Regions from separate parts of the Homo sapiens genome. Here regions 1, 3 and 4 are each linked to region 2. The links are contacts of gene promoters, found by promoter capture Hi-C in blood cells and fetal thymus (Javierre and others, 2016). All regions are on one chromosome and are shown on one strand. The core of a region is centred on a gene start or on the middle of the fragment in contact, and the rest is flanking DNA. Distances in the headings are between cores, read along the strand shown. Region 1 has its middle 25 kb from the start of IFITM10. Region 2 holds the start of TNNT3 (troponin T3, fast skeletal type). Region 3 has its middle 4.8 kb from the start of KRTAP5-6. Region 4 has its middle 4.8 kb from the start of FAM99B.

Region 1 (2,964 bases), core at 456-2,955, 190 kb after region 2:
TGAGGATGGGACCCCCATGATGAGGTTAGTGTCCTTATGAGAAAAGACACCAGAGGGCTTGTTCTCTCTCTCCCACAGCCTGTGAAGACACAGTGACAAGGCGGCCGTTTGCAAGCCAGGAAGAGAGCCCTCACTAGGACCCAAATCTGCCAGCACCTTGATCTTGGTCTTGTACTTCCAGCCTCCAGAAATGAGAAAGAATAATTTTTTTTGTTTCAGCCACCCAGTCATATTAGCTGTGGCAGCCTGAGGTGACTAATATCCTGCCAAAAACGCACAGCCAAACACCAGGCAGACCCAAACTGAGGGATCGTGAGAATAGATCTGGCCTATAATCAGAAGTGTCGAGGTCATGAACGTCAAGGAAAGATTGAGGAACCATTCCAGACAAATGTAATTAGGCACACTCTCACTCTGCAGTTTGTCTTTTCACTGTCTTAATGTTATATTCTGATAACTAAGTTATTTTTTATTAAATTCCATTTATAATTTTTATCTTGTATGACTGATGTTTTTCATGTCCTGTTAATTTTTAATTTCTTTTTTCTTTATTTTTTTTTTACTCACTTCAGGGTCATGAAGCTTTTCTCTTAATAGCTTTATTGTTCTGCCTTTTGGATCTAGGTCTGTGCTCCACCTTGGATGAATTTTTGTGTATGATGTGAGGTGGGAGGTCGGGGGAGCTGAGGACACTGTAGGTCCTCCACCCAGGTCTGCTTGGGTCATACCACTGTTCCTCTGTGCCCCACCCCCAGCCTCAGTGTGCATCTGTCTCCAAGAGTCCACGACTGAGATGGTACTTGGGAAGACCCTGTATCTGGACTTCATATCCCTTTCACAGTCTTTAGTCACTGCTGTTTCCGGCTGGAGCCCCAAAGCCAAGCTCCCCTGTCTGCATCAAGATAAACTTATGATCTATGATCAAGAGTTGCCATTGATTAGGCAGAAGCTGGGCCTGCACAGAAACCCCCACTCTCCTGAAATCTTACTTCCCTTCCCCCATTTTCCTAGGAGCATGTCCCCAGTAAATTACAGACATGGAGATCTTCTCACTTCTGGTTCTGCTGCCGGAGAACCTGAACCAACTCCGGGGCAATGTTAGTATTTTTATTCTTCCCATAGAGACGTCCCAGTGCTGCCATGTCCCTCATGGAGAAGACCATCTTTCCCCCACTAAGTTGCAGGGGCCCTCAGTGGTTTGTTGGGTGGCCGTAGAGACGTGGTGCATGTGTTTCTGGACTTCAGTCTGTCCCACTGGTCTATTTATCTGACTTTACAGCAGCATCAGACTGTCTCCATTCCTGTGGGAATACTATCTGTATTAAGTCTTCATAACTGGTAATGTTTTTCAAGGAATTTTTCCATTTCATTGAAGCTGCCAGATGTATTGACATAAAGTTGTTCATAGTATATTTTTATTCCATTTTGGATGTCTGTACCCACATTTTCATTTCTGATCATCCTATTTCATACTCTTGACAACTTTTGATTCTCTTTATTCTTGGTCAGTCTTGTAGATAATTATCAATATACTTATTTAAAAAAGAAAAGTTTGCCTGTGGGTCTTTCCATTGTGTGTCTGCTTTTCATTTCATTAATTTTTGTTCCTAACTTTATTATTCCCTTTCTTGTAATTTCTTTGGGTTTAAATTGCTGTTTTTCCCTCCAGCCTCTTTGGTGAATAATTCTTTTTAACTTTCTTTTTTCATAATATAATGAATTAATTTAAATCCATAAATATCCTACAAGTTTTGATATTATATATGTTTTATTATCATTTGTTTCAATATAGTTTCTGAGTTCTATCCTGATTTCTTTTTTGAATCCTTGATTACATAGACACTTGGTTAATTTGCAGACATTCAGATTTTTTTTTTTCTGAGACGGAGCCTCGCTCTGTCACCCAGGCTGGAGTGCAGTGGCACCACCATCTCGGCTCACTGCAAGCTCCGCCTCCCGGGTTCACACCATTCTCCTGCCTCAGCCTCCCGAGTAGCTGGGACTACAGGCGCCTGTCACCTCGCCCGGCTAATTGTTTTGTATTTTTAGTAGAGACGGGGTTTCACCGTGTTAGCCAGGATGGTCTCGATCTCCTGATCTCGTGATCTGCCCACCTCGGCCTCCCAAAGTGCTGGGATTACAGACGTGAGCCACCGTGCCCGGCAGACATTCAGATTTTTATAGTGATTATTATTGTTTTTTTCTTTGAGACAGAGTTTCGCTCTACACTCGCCCCCACTGGAGTGCAGTGGCGCAATCTCAGCTCACTGCGACTTCCGCCTTCCAGGTTCAAGCGATTCTCCTGCCTCAGCGTCCCGAGTAGGTAGGACTACAGGCACCCACCACTACGCCCAGCTAATTTTTTGCATTTTTAGTAGAGACCATGTTGGCCAGGCTGGTCTCAAACTCCTGGCCTCAGGTCATCTGCCCGCCTCGGCCTCCCAAAGTGCTGGGATTAAAGGCGTGAGCCACCACGCCCGGCCTGTAGTTATCCTTCTGTTCTCAGTATCTGGCTTTATTTTTACTATTGTCAGGGAACATTCCCTAGATCATTTCAATACTTTAACAATGCATGAGGCTTCTTTTTGAAGCAGATTTTGGTCTGTTCCTGTAACTGTGTCTATGTGCACTTGAAAAGATGTTTATTTTCCAGTTATTGGCTGTAAATTTTAATTATTTCCAGTGGTTAATTATGTTGTTGAAATCTTCTCCTGCCTTACTGATTTCATTTTCAGTCTAATTGTCCTATCAGTTGCTGAGAGACGTGCATTACGGCCTCCAACTCTGATTGTAGATTTGTCTATGTCTCCTTGCCACTGTCAAGCTTTGCTTTTGCGTATTTTAAGCAACGCTATCAGATGAATGGAAGTTTAGAATTGTCGTGTCTTTTTGATTGATCTTTTTGAAATTATCAAGTGATTCATTTTATTGGTAGCAATATTTCTTTTATTAAGTCTACTTCCT
Region 2 (2,700 bases), core at 39-2,538:
CCCCCGACGTGCGCTGGAAAGGCCCACTCTCCAAGTGGGGAAACTGAGGCACCTGGTTTTCTGCTGAGCGCCTGGAAGCAACACAAGGCTGTTCTGTTCCCCCCAGTATGGCCTGTGTCATTGCCTCTGTTGCGGGGAGGGGCTGGTGGCAGGGGTGTGCTGGGGGCAGGGGTGTGCTGGGGGCAGGGGATGGCATTTCAACAGCTGAGACGCAAAGCAGGTGTCCAGTTAGTGCCTGCCTTGGAGGGGCTGCGTGAAAATAACCTATGCGGTCAGTTTCTTCGGGCACGTATGCATCACCTTTCCCTCCTTGGGAGGTGACGGGGCCAGGGCAGGGTGGGGAGGCAAAAGCCGCTGCCCCTTGCTTGCTGTGGCCCTGACCATGCCCCCAGACCTGTTCTCCACCCAGCCAACCTTTGCTTTGCCCCATGTCCCTCCGTGGACTTCAGGAGGGGCAGCCAAGGCCTGATCAGACGGCACAAGTCAGGGGGACCGTGTCCAGGGCAGGGAGGGTGGGTGGGGGCTCTTACGAGCGCCAGCTTCTCCAGCCTCCAGCCAGGGGGACGCGATGAAGCCCAGCCCCTCACTCTTGCCCCGTCCTGCCCCAGTCCAGCCCCTGTCCACTTCTGTCCTGCACCTCCAGACGCTGGCCCCCAAGGCTGCGTGGGCTTTAGACGCCCCCACCCCAACACACTCGGGCTGGCCATACAGGAGCCCCTGCCCTCCTGTCCTCGTTTTCATCTCTACAAAATGGCGGTGTTGGAGGCCCAGGTGCGAGAGCTGCATGGCAAGGCCAGGACGGGCCTGGGCAAATGTCTGCATGGCGACCACAAGCTGGCAACCTAAGCCCTGGCAGCACCCCTGCACAGCCTCTTCCCTGCCGCTCACAGCCCGCACCTCTCTGCCTCCTGCCCTCAGGCCACTCCCTAGCACTGAGCTTCCCTGAGCCCCGACTTGCCCCCTCCTGGCCTCCCACACTCTGCCTTCTTCTGCATCCTCCCGGTGCTGAGACCATCACACCACCATGTCCGCATCCCAGACTCTCCGGACGCTGGAGCAGCCACCTGGGGGCTCCGAGCCATGATGCTTCGAGATGCTCGGCACCACACGGACCTGGGACCTCAGCGCCCCAGGACCCCAGAGTGTCCCTGGAACGAGGGGCTGTCCACCCGCACGCAGGAGGCCCCGTCGGCCCCAGTCCTGGGTGGCCGCTCCTGCCTATACCCACCTGCGGGTCGAGTGTGAGAAGGGCTGGAGCTCCCTGTGGACAGCACCGGCTGCAGGCACTGGCGCCCGGCTCACACCCTCGTGTTATAGTGACATTTGATCTTCCTAGGAGCCCATTGGCCAGTGACTGGGTGGCCGGGGTGTGTGCGGAGTCTTGCTGGGGGGGGCTATGCCCGTGCAGGCCCCTTACCAAGTATAGGAATGGCCAGAGGAGGAGGCTGAAGGAGGCCAGGATGCAGAGGACGTGCTTGGAGAAGGAGGCAAGGTCCTCCCTCCGCCTCCAGGAGGTGTCAGCTGCTATTTTTACTCCCAGCAGCGGGTACATTCTGGATGGGCTGAGGAGGGAGGAGGAAGGTGTTGGGTGGCCCCGGGGCACCAAGCCGAGGCTCTCTTTGGGCCAAACTAGTGTGGGGGTCCCCAGAGCCAGGCTGCCGGGTTTCCCACCCCCCCGCCCCTTCTCTCTGAGATGTTCTGTGGGAGTAAACATTTGTCCAGGAAAAGGGTCCGCACAGCCGGGGTCCCCTCCCGCCGCCCGGCCCAATGCCCCAGGCCCTTCGCTGTCTCCCCCGGGGAGGAAGCAGCCTGAGGCCTCGGAGACCCCCCATGGAACTGAGGCCAGGCCCCCACCCTATCTGAGACCCTCTTAGAGGCCAGCTCTGCTTTCCTGGCTAGACACCGTTGGGGCCTACACAATAAGCGGGCGAGGGACATGGCCAGGCTGGCTGCAGTCCGAGTCTGCCATACCTCCCCCCGGGGCTGCTGCCATTGCAGGGGGCTACACATGGAGTTTGCTGGGTAAGGGTCTGGGTCCTCCCTCTAGGCCCTTTCTAACCCTGGGGCCCCACCCTGGGCACTCGCAGTGGCCGTTACCATCTGTGCCAGCATCTCCCACAGGCTCATTGTGGCGTGTGGAGACTGGTTTTCTTTCCTCAGGACTCCAGGTGGCACCGTCCGACTAGCAGACATCCTTCCTGGCCTCTGATGGCCTGTATGCTGGCCAGTGAGGCCACCAGATTGGATAACCCTGCCTCTTGGATCAGGGAAACTGAGGCACCAGGTGGGGGAGAGCAGTCTGGCACCCTGACCCACCCCCTCACTCCCCTCAGACCCCACAGGCTGAGCGTGGGCGGTGGTGTCTGCGGAACTCTTCGGTTCAGGCACAGATTGGTTCCTTCTTGGCCAGCGCCCAGGACAGGGGTGAGTCCCGAGAGGCACAGATGAGGTCCCTGTCCTCCCCAGGCTTAGAGTCAGGGACAACAGGATAACCCGGCAGGGGCTCACAGTGCCCTGGGGCCGGGTCGGGGGCCTTCCGGAAGGCTGTGGTTGGCACCTCATTCCACCCCTCCATGGAAGAGCGAGGCCGCAGAGCCCAGGGACAGGCAAGGTGTGCCTGGGGTCACACGACAAGGCGGGCTGGCCCCAGGCTGCCATTTCAAAGGACAGGGCCGGTCCCCTGCCTGCCTCCCGCTGAGT
Region 3 (2,818 bases), core at 198-2,697, 220 kb after region 2:
AAATTGAGTTGAATGTATAGAAAATTACCGTATTTCACCTGCTGCCACACCTACATAACGTCCCCTGCTGTTAGCATCCTACACTAGGGTGGCCCATTTGTCATCATTGATGAGCCAACATTGACACGTGGTGAGCACCCAAAGTCCAGACCTAACCTTCACCTCCACTCTTCATGTTGTACGTTCTACAACACAAATGATGAACGTGGAATGCCATTTATTCACCATCACAGTATCATATAGAACAGTTTTGGGCCGGGCACGCTCACTCCTGTAATCCCAGCACTTTGGGAGGCCAAGGCAGGTGGATCACCTGAGGTCAGGAGTTTGAGACCAGCCTGGCCAACATGGTGATATCCCACACACACCTCGGTCATGTGTGTCTGCTCTTTTTTCTTGTCTGTCTTGCTACAGGCTTATCTTTTTTGATCTTTATTTATTGATCTTTATTGATCTTTTCAAAGAACCAGATTTTGGTTTAATTAATTTTCTTGTTTTATTTTTTTTATTTTTTTGAGATGGAATTTCACTCTGTTGCCCGGGCTGGAGTGTGGTGGCACGATCTCAGCTCAGTTCTCTGCAACCTCTGCCTCCTGGGTTCAGCTATTCTCCTGCCTCAGCCTCCCAAGTAGCTTACATTACAATCATGGGCCACCACGTCAGGCTAATTTTTGTACTTTTAGTGGAGATGGGGTTTTGCCGTGTTGGCCAGGCTGGTCTCGAACACCTGACCTCAAGTGATCCACCCACCTCGGCCTCCCGAAGTGCTGGGATTATAGGCGTGAATCACCACGCCTGGCTGGTTGAATAAATTTTCTCCGTTGTTTTGCTATTTTCTATTGCATTGATTTCTAATTTTATATGCATACATACACACTTATCCATAAATTTATATATTTTTTCCTGCTTGCTTTCAGATTATTTGTTCCTTGAAGGTTATGTAGAATTAACCAATGAAACCATCTGGCCTTGAAGGGTTTTTTTGTGTGGGAAGGCTTTTAACTACAAATTCTGTTTCTTGATAGAGATATTCAGGCTCCCTCTTCCTTCTTGAGTTTGGTGGTTCATGTCTTTCGAGCAATTGGTCCCTTTCCTCTTAGTTTCCAAATGTATGCGGCGTGCAGTATTCCTGCATTATCCTTTTAATGTCCGTGGGACCCGAAGTGATATCCCTTTTCTCATTCCTGATATTGGTAATTTGCATCTTCTTTCTTTTTCATCTTGCCAGTCTTGCTAAAATTTAAAAAATATGTTGATCTTTTCAAAGAACCAGCTTGACTATATTCTTTGTTTATATCTTTTTAATGGTTGTTCTAGAGTACGGGTATATTGCTTACTTTTGCACTGTGTACTTAGAATCGATATTTCACTAATTTAGGTGGAATCCAGGAATCTTCCCGCAATAGAGACCACTTGTCTCATAAATGACAAATACTCATTTTGAAAACCCCACCAGAGAATGGTGTGATTTTTGTTTACAACATCAAACACATTTTGAAGAGAATAACCCATTAGATTTACCCATATGTTCACCTAAAACTCTGAGGATAGGAAACTTTCTCTCTCAGAAGAGCCTTCGTGGTCCCAAGACAGTGGGTGAGCCCATTGTTTTAAATATTTAGCTGGTATTTTATCTCCTCATGTCCTCATTCATGGCCCTTGGTGTCTCCATGTGTCTCTGACTGCGGGTGCTGGCTCTTGCCCACGGTGGCTGCTTTCCTTGTGTGCTTGTGGTTTTCTGCTGTGAGCTCATGTTTGCCTCGGCTGTAGGTGGGGAGCTCAGGGCCTTGGCTGAGGACACAGACTTTGTCTGAAGTTTTGCTGCACTTCCTTCCACCGGGCTGCTCTGGGTCCTATCAATTCAGGACCACTTTAAGTGACTTGCTCAGCTTGTGGTTTTCTGGACCACAAAACTGATGCCAATGTGTGCCTCCCACCTGGATAATGGTGGGCCTGAAGTTGTCACTTCTCAAAGGAAATGTTTTTATCACCCATCTCAGACTCAGCAAACGTATTTCTCTGCTGTCTCCTTCTGGCAGTGGCTGGGTTGCCTTCTAGCTGCCCCCATGAGAGGGCACAGTCCCTTCCTTCTGGCAGCGGCTGGGTTGCCTTCTAGCCACCCCCATCAGAGGGCACAGTCCCTTCCGGGATCTCTGCTTTGGGCAGCAGCTCTGAGCTCCAACCACCCACTGTGCAGAACAAAGACTTGTCTTCTGCATTGCACCCTCCCACGCAGCTCTTAAAACCAAATCCTCTGAGTGCGTGTGCATGCTGCGCTGCACTCTTACAATTCAGGACCCAGCAACAGCCGCGAACGGGGCAAATTCCATGCAACACAGTGGATGAACCTCGCCAACATAGTCTGGGGCCAAAGGAGCTGGCCATGAGAGGACACGGCCTACGATGGCGTTTTATGAAGTCCAGTAACAGACAAAACTGGTGTCTGATGGGATAATTCAAGCTCATGGTTACTCTTGGTGGGGAGTGGGTAGCAATTAGAAATGGGTGCTTCTGGGGTGCCGGAATGTTCTATTTCTTGTTCTGAGGGCCAGTTCTAGGAAGGTGTTCAGCTTTTGTGGAAACTTATTGAGTTCTACATGGATACCTTGTCCACTTTTTTATAGTTTTATTTTAATACAATGTGGCAACAGCAGCGAGGGACCCTCTTCCCTGAGGGGCACCTCTATTCCACAGCTGTCACCCCAACTGACTCTTCACTCTGAAACGTGACAGAGCGTATTTCTGCTGTAAACTGTGCTGCTCCCTCCTCCAGGTGATGAAGCCTATGTGTCCCCTCTTTCCCTTTTTGCTCTGACTG
Region 4 (2,837 bases), core at 315-2,814, 240 kb after region 2:
TGAATGTCATACCGTTTCTCCGAATCTCTGCCAGCATTTGGTCTTGTTATTATATTTTGCGTTAGCTGTTCTAATAGGTACGGAGAAATATTGGGTCATGGTCCCAGCCTGTGTTTCCCTGGGGCCACGCGGGTTGAAGGCCGTTTTGTGACTTCATCTGCCATCTCCACCTTGTCTCCATGATCCTTCTTTCATTGGATTATTTGGCCCTGTTCCGTTGAGTTTTGAGAGTTCTTCTTATATTCTAGATACGAGTCCTTTGTCAGACATGGGTTTTGCAAACATTTTCTCCCAGCCCACAGCTTATCTTTTCATCCATCCTAACAGGATCTTTCACGGCATAAAAGTTTTTAATTTCAATGAGATCTAATTCATTGATTTAAAATATATATGAATCATGCTTTTGATGTTATATCTAGGAAGTCCTTGCCAAGCCCCAGGTCCTGGACACTTTCTTCTATTCTAAAAGTGTTATTGTTTTTGATCCAATTTGAGTTAATTTCCTTTATTTTTACTTTTTTTTTTTTTTTGGGGGGGGACGGAGTCTTACTCTGTCTCCCAGGCTGGAGTTCAGTGGCGTGATCTTGGCTCACTGCGACCTCCAACCCCCAGGTTTAAATGATTCTCATGTCTCAGCCTCCCAAGTAGCTGGGATTACAGGTGCCTGCCACCACGCCTGGATAATTTTTGTTTATTAATGTATTTATTTATTTCGAGACGAGTCTCTCTCTGTTGCCCAGACTGGAGTGCAGTGGCATGATCTTGGCTCACTGCAACCTCTGCCTCCTGGGTTCAAGCGATTCTCCTGCCTCAGCCTCCCAAGTAGCTGGGATTACAGGTGCCTGCCACCACGCCCAGCTAATTTTTGTATTTTTCATAGAGACAGGGTTTCACCATGTTGGCCAGGCTGGTTTCGAACTCCCGATCTCAAGTGATCTGCCAGCCTCGGCCTCCCAAAGTGCTGGGATTACAGGCATGAGCCACTGTGCCCAGCCCCAGTTTGAGTTAATTTTCATATGAACGTGTAGGTCTACGGCCATTTTTGAACCCATGAGTCTGCTCTAGCATGGCTTGTTGGGAAAGCGGCTCTTCTGGCATTGACGGCTCTTGGTCCCTTGTGGGAGGCCAGGTGGCCGTGATCCTGGGGGTCTGCACGCCCCTTTACCTCCACTCTCTCTCTTCCCTGGGGTGACACTCTCTTTTTCAATTTTCTATTTTTTTAATTTTAATTAATTTTTTTTTTTTTAATTTTAGAGATGAGGTCTCACTATGTAGCCCAGGCAGGTCTAGAACTCTAGCCTCAAGAGATCCTCCTTCCTCAGGCTCCCAAAGTGCTAGGATTACATGCATGAGCTGCTGTGCCCACACCCACGGTGACACTCTTGATTACGGGAGCTTTTGAGTAACTCTTAACATTGAGGGGCACGATTCTTCCTTTCTTCTTCTTTTATCATTTAGCTATTCTAGTTCCTTTGCCCCTTTGTACACATTTTAGAATCAATTTATCTAATAAAAAATATTTTTGATATTTTGGTGTGTTGATTAATATGTATTCCTGGTATTTTTGATAAAAAATCTATCTAGATCAATTTAGGAAAAACTAAATTAAAATATAAAAGCACTCAATGTAATTTACTACATTAATATATTTATTGAGAAAAACTATATAGATGACACTCAAAACTATTCCCTAAAACTTAGCCCCTCTGTGAATTTTAAAGTTTTTCTTTTTCTAAACATTATTCCATAAAAAGTGTGAGAATTAATATTCATACGTTTAGTCCATTTTTCTACTGAGCTGCTATTGATTTGTATAATCAATTTGGATATCAGAGATATTAATTTTTATTGTTATATTTGTAAGAAACATTTTCTCTGAATCTGTACTATGTCATTTTTTTACTGTGATTTTCAATAAAGAAGTGTTTCCTTTTGAAACAGTGAAATCTCCCAGACACTCCGTTAACAATGCTTGTGTTTCGCGCCATGCTTTAAGGCCCCCCCAATATCGGGAATACATTCCCCACATGTCCTTCCAGGAATTTTGTACTTTTATTTTTTTGTGTGCATTTGGATTCCTCGTGGATGTGCTCCAGCTGAGATGGGACTGCCTAGCTGGGTGGTTGCTCTGTGTCTCAGCTGAGACGGAGATGGGACTGCCTTGCTGCAGGTGCGTGGTTCTGTTGTTACGTCCTCTGCAGCAGGCCCTGTCTCTTCCTGCTGGCTCAGACACCCCGTCCACGGGGTCCTGAGTTACACTGAGAAGGCTGCCAGGGCCCGGCTCCACTTCCTCCTTCAATTTATGTAATCCAGAAGCAAGGCAGTGCTGTTTTAATAACTGTAGCTTTATAGTCTGTTCTGATAGCTGTCTGGGAAATCACCACTCATTCTTCTTCCTTTATATTTTGCTTTTAAATTTTTAATGGCTATAAAAATTTAAAAAAATTATAAAGACATCCCCCCAAAATTTAATGGCTACACTTGCCTATACATTTTGATGAGAATTTTAGAGAAAACTTGGCAAGATAAAAGTAATTATTTATTTTAATTGGAATATAATTAAATCCATAGGTTGATTTTTAGAGACCTGAAGTTGTAAGTGTTCTCAATCAAGAAGCCTGTTATATCTCTCCATTTATTTACATCTTATGGGTAGGAGGCTTTTTTTTTTTTTTTTTTTGAGATGGGGTTTCACTCTCATTGCCCAGGCTGGAGTGCAATGGTGTAATCTTGGCACATTGCAACCTCCGCCTCCTGGGTTCAAGTGATTCCCCTGCCTCAGCCTCCCAAGCAGTTGGGATTATAGGCATGAGCCACCATGCCGAGCTAAGTTTTTG

What was found. The method cuts DNA at HindIII sites, captures the fragments that hold promoters and counts their contacts. A CHiCAGO score of 5 or more calls a contact.
Region 1: a contact is called between a fragment that was not itself captured here and the fragment with the promoter of TNNT3 in region 2, in 1 of 17 cell types (monocytes). The highest score is 7.3, in monocytes.
Region 3: a contact is called between a fragment that was not itself captured here and the fragment with the promoter of TNNT3 in region 2, in 4 of 17 cell types (neutrophils, monocytes, total CD8 T cells and 1 more). The highest score is 8.3, in neutrophils.
Region 4: a contact is called between a fragment that was not itself captured here and the fragment with the promoter of TNNT3 in region 2, in 2 of 17 cell types (monocytes and neutrophils). The highest score is 6.1, in monocytes.

The regions. Positions count from the first base shown.
Region 1 is chr11:1,724,589-1,727,552 of GRCh38, reverse strand. No RefSeq gene overlaps it. Among named protein-coding and RNA genes, the nearest start is that of IFITM10, 25 kb to the left of the region's middle. The HindIII fragment of the contact is 2,242 bases long and covers 585-2,826 here.
Region 2 is chr11:1,918,291-1,920,990 of GRCh38, reverse strand. It overlaps TNNT3 (troponin T3, fast skeletal type), which reads right to left and starts at 1,288. Exons shown (of 16, transcript NM_006757.4): 1 at 1,229-1,288. The HindIII fragment of the contact is 31,744 bases long and covers 1-2,700 here.
Region 3 is chr11:1,700,577-1,703,394 of GRCh38, reverse strand. No RefSeq gene overlaps it. Among named protein-coding and RNA genes, the nearest start is that of KRTAP5-6, 4.8 kb to the right of the region's middle. The HindIII fragment of the contact is 6,583 bases long and covers 1-2,818 here.
Region 4 is chr11:1,679,418-1,682,254 of GRCh38, reverse strand. No RefSeq gene overlaps it. Among named protein-coding and RNA genes, the nearest start is that of FAM99B, 4.8 kb to the left of the region's middle. The HindIII fragment of the contact is 3,513 bases long and covers 1-2,837 here.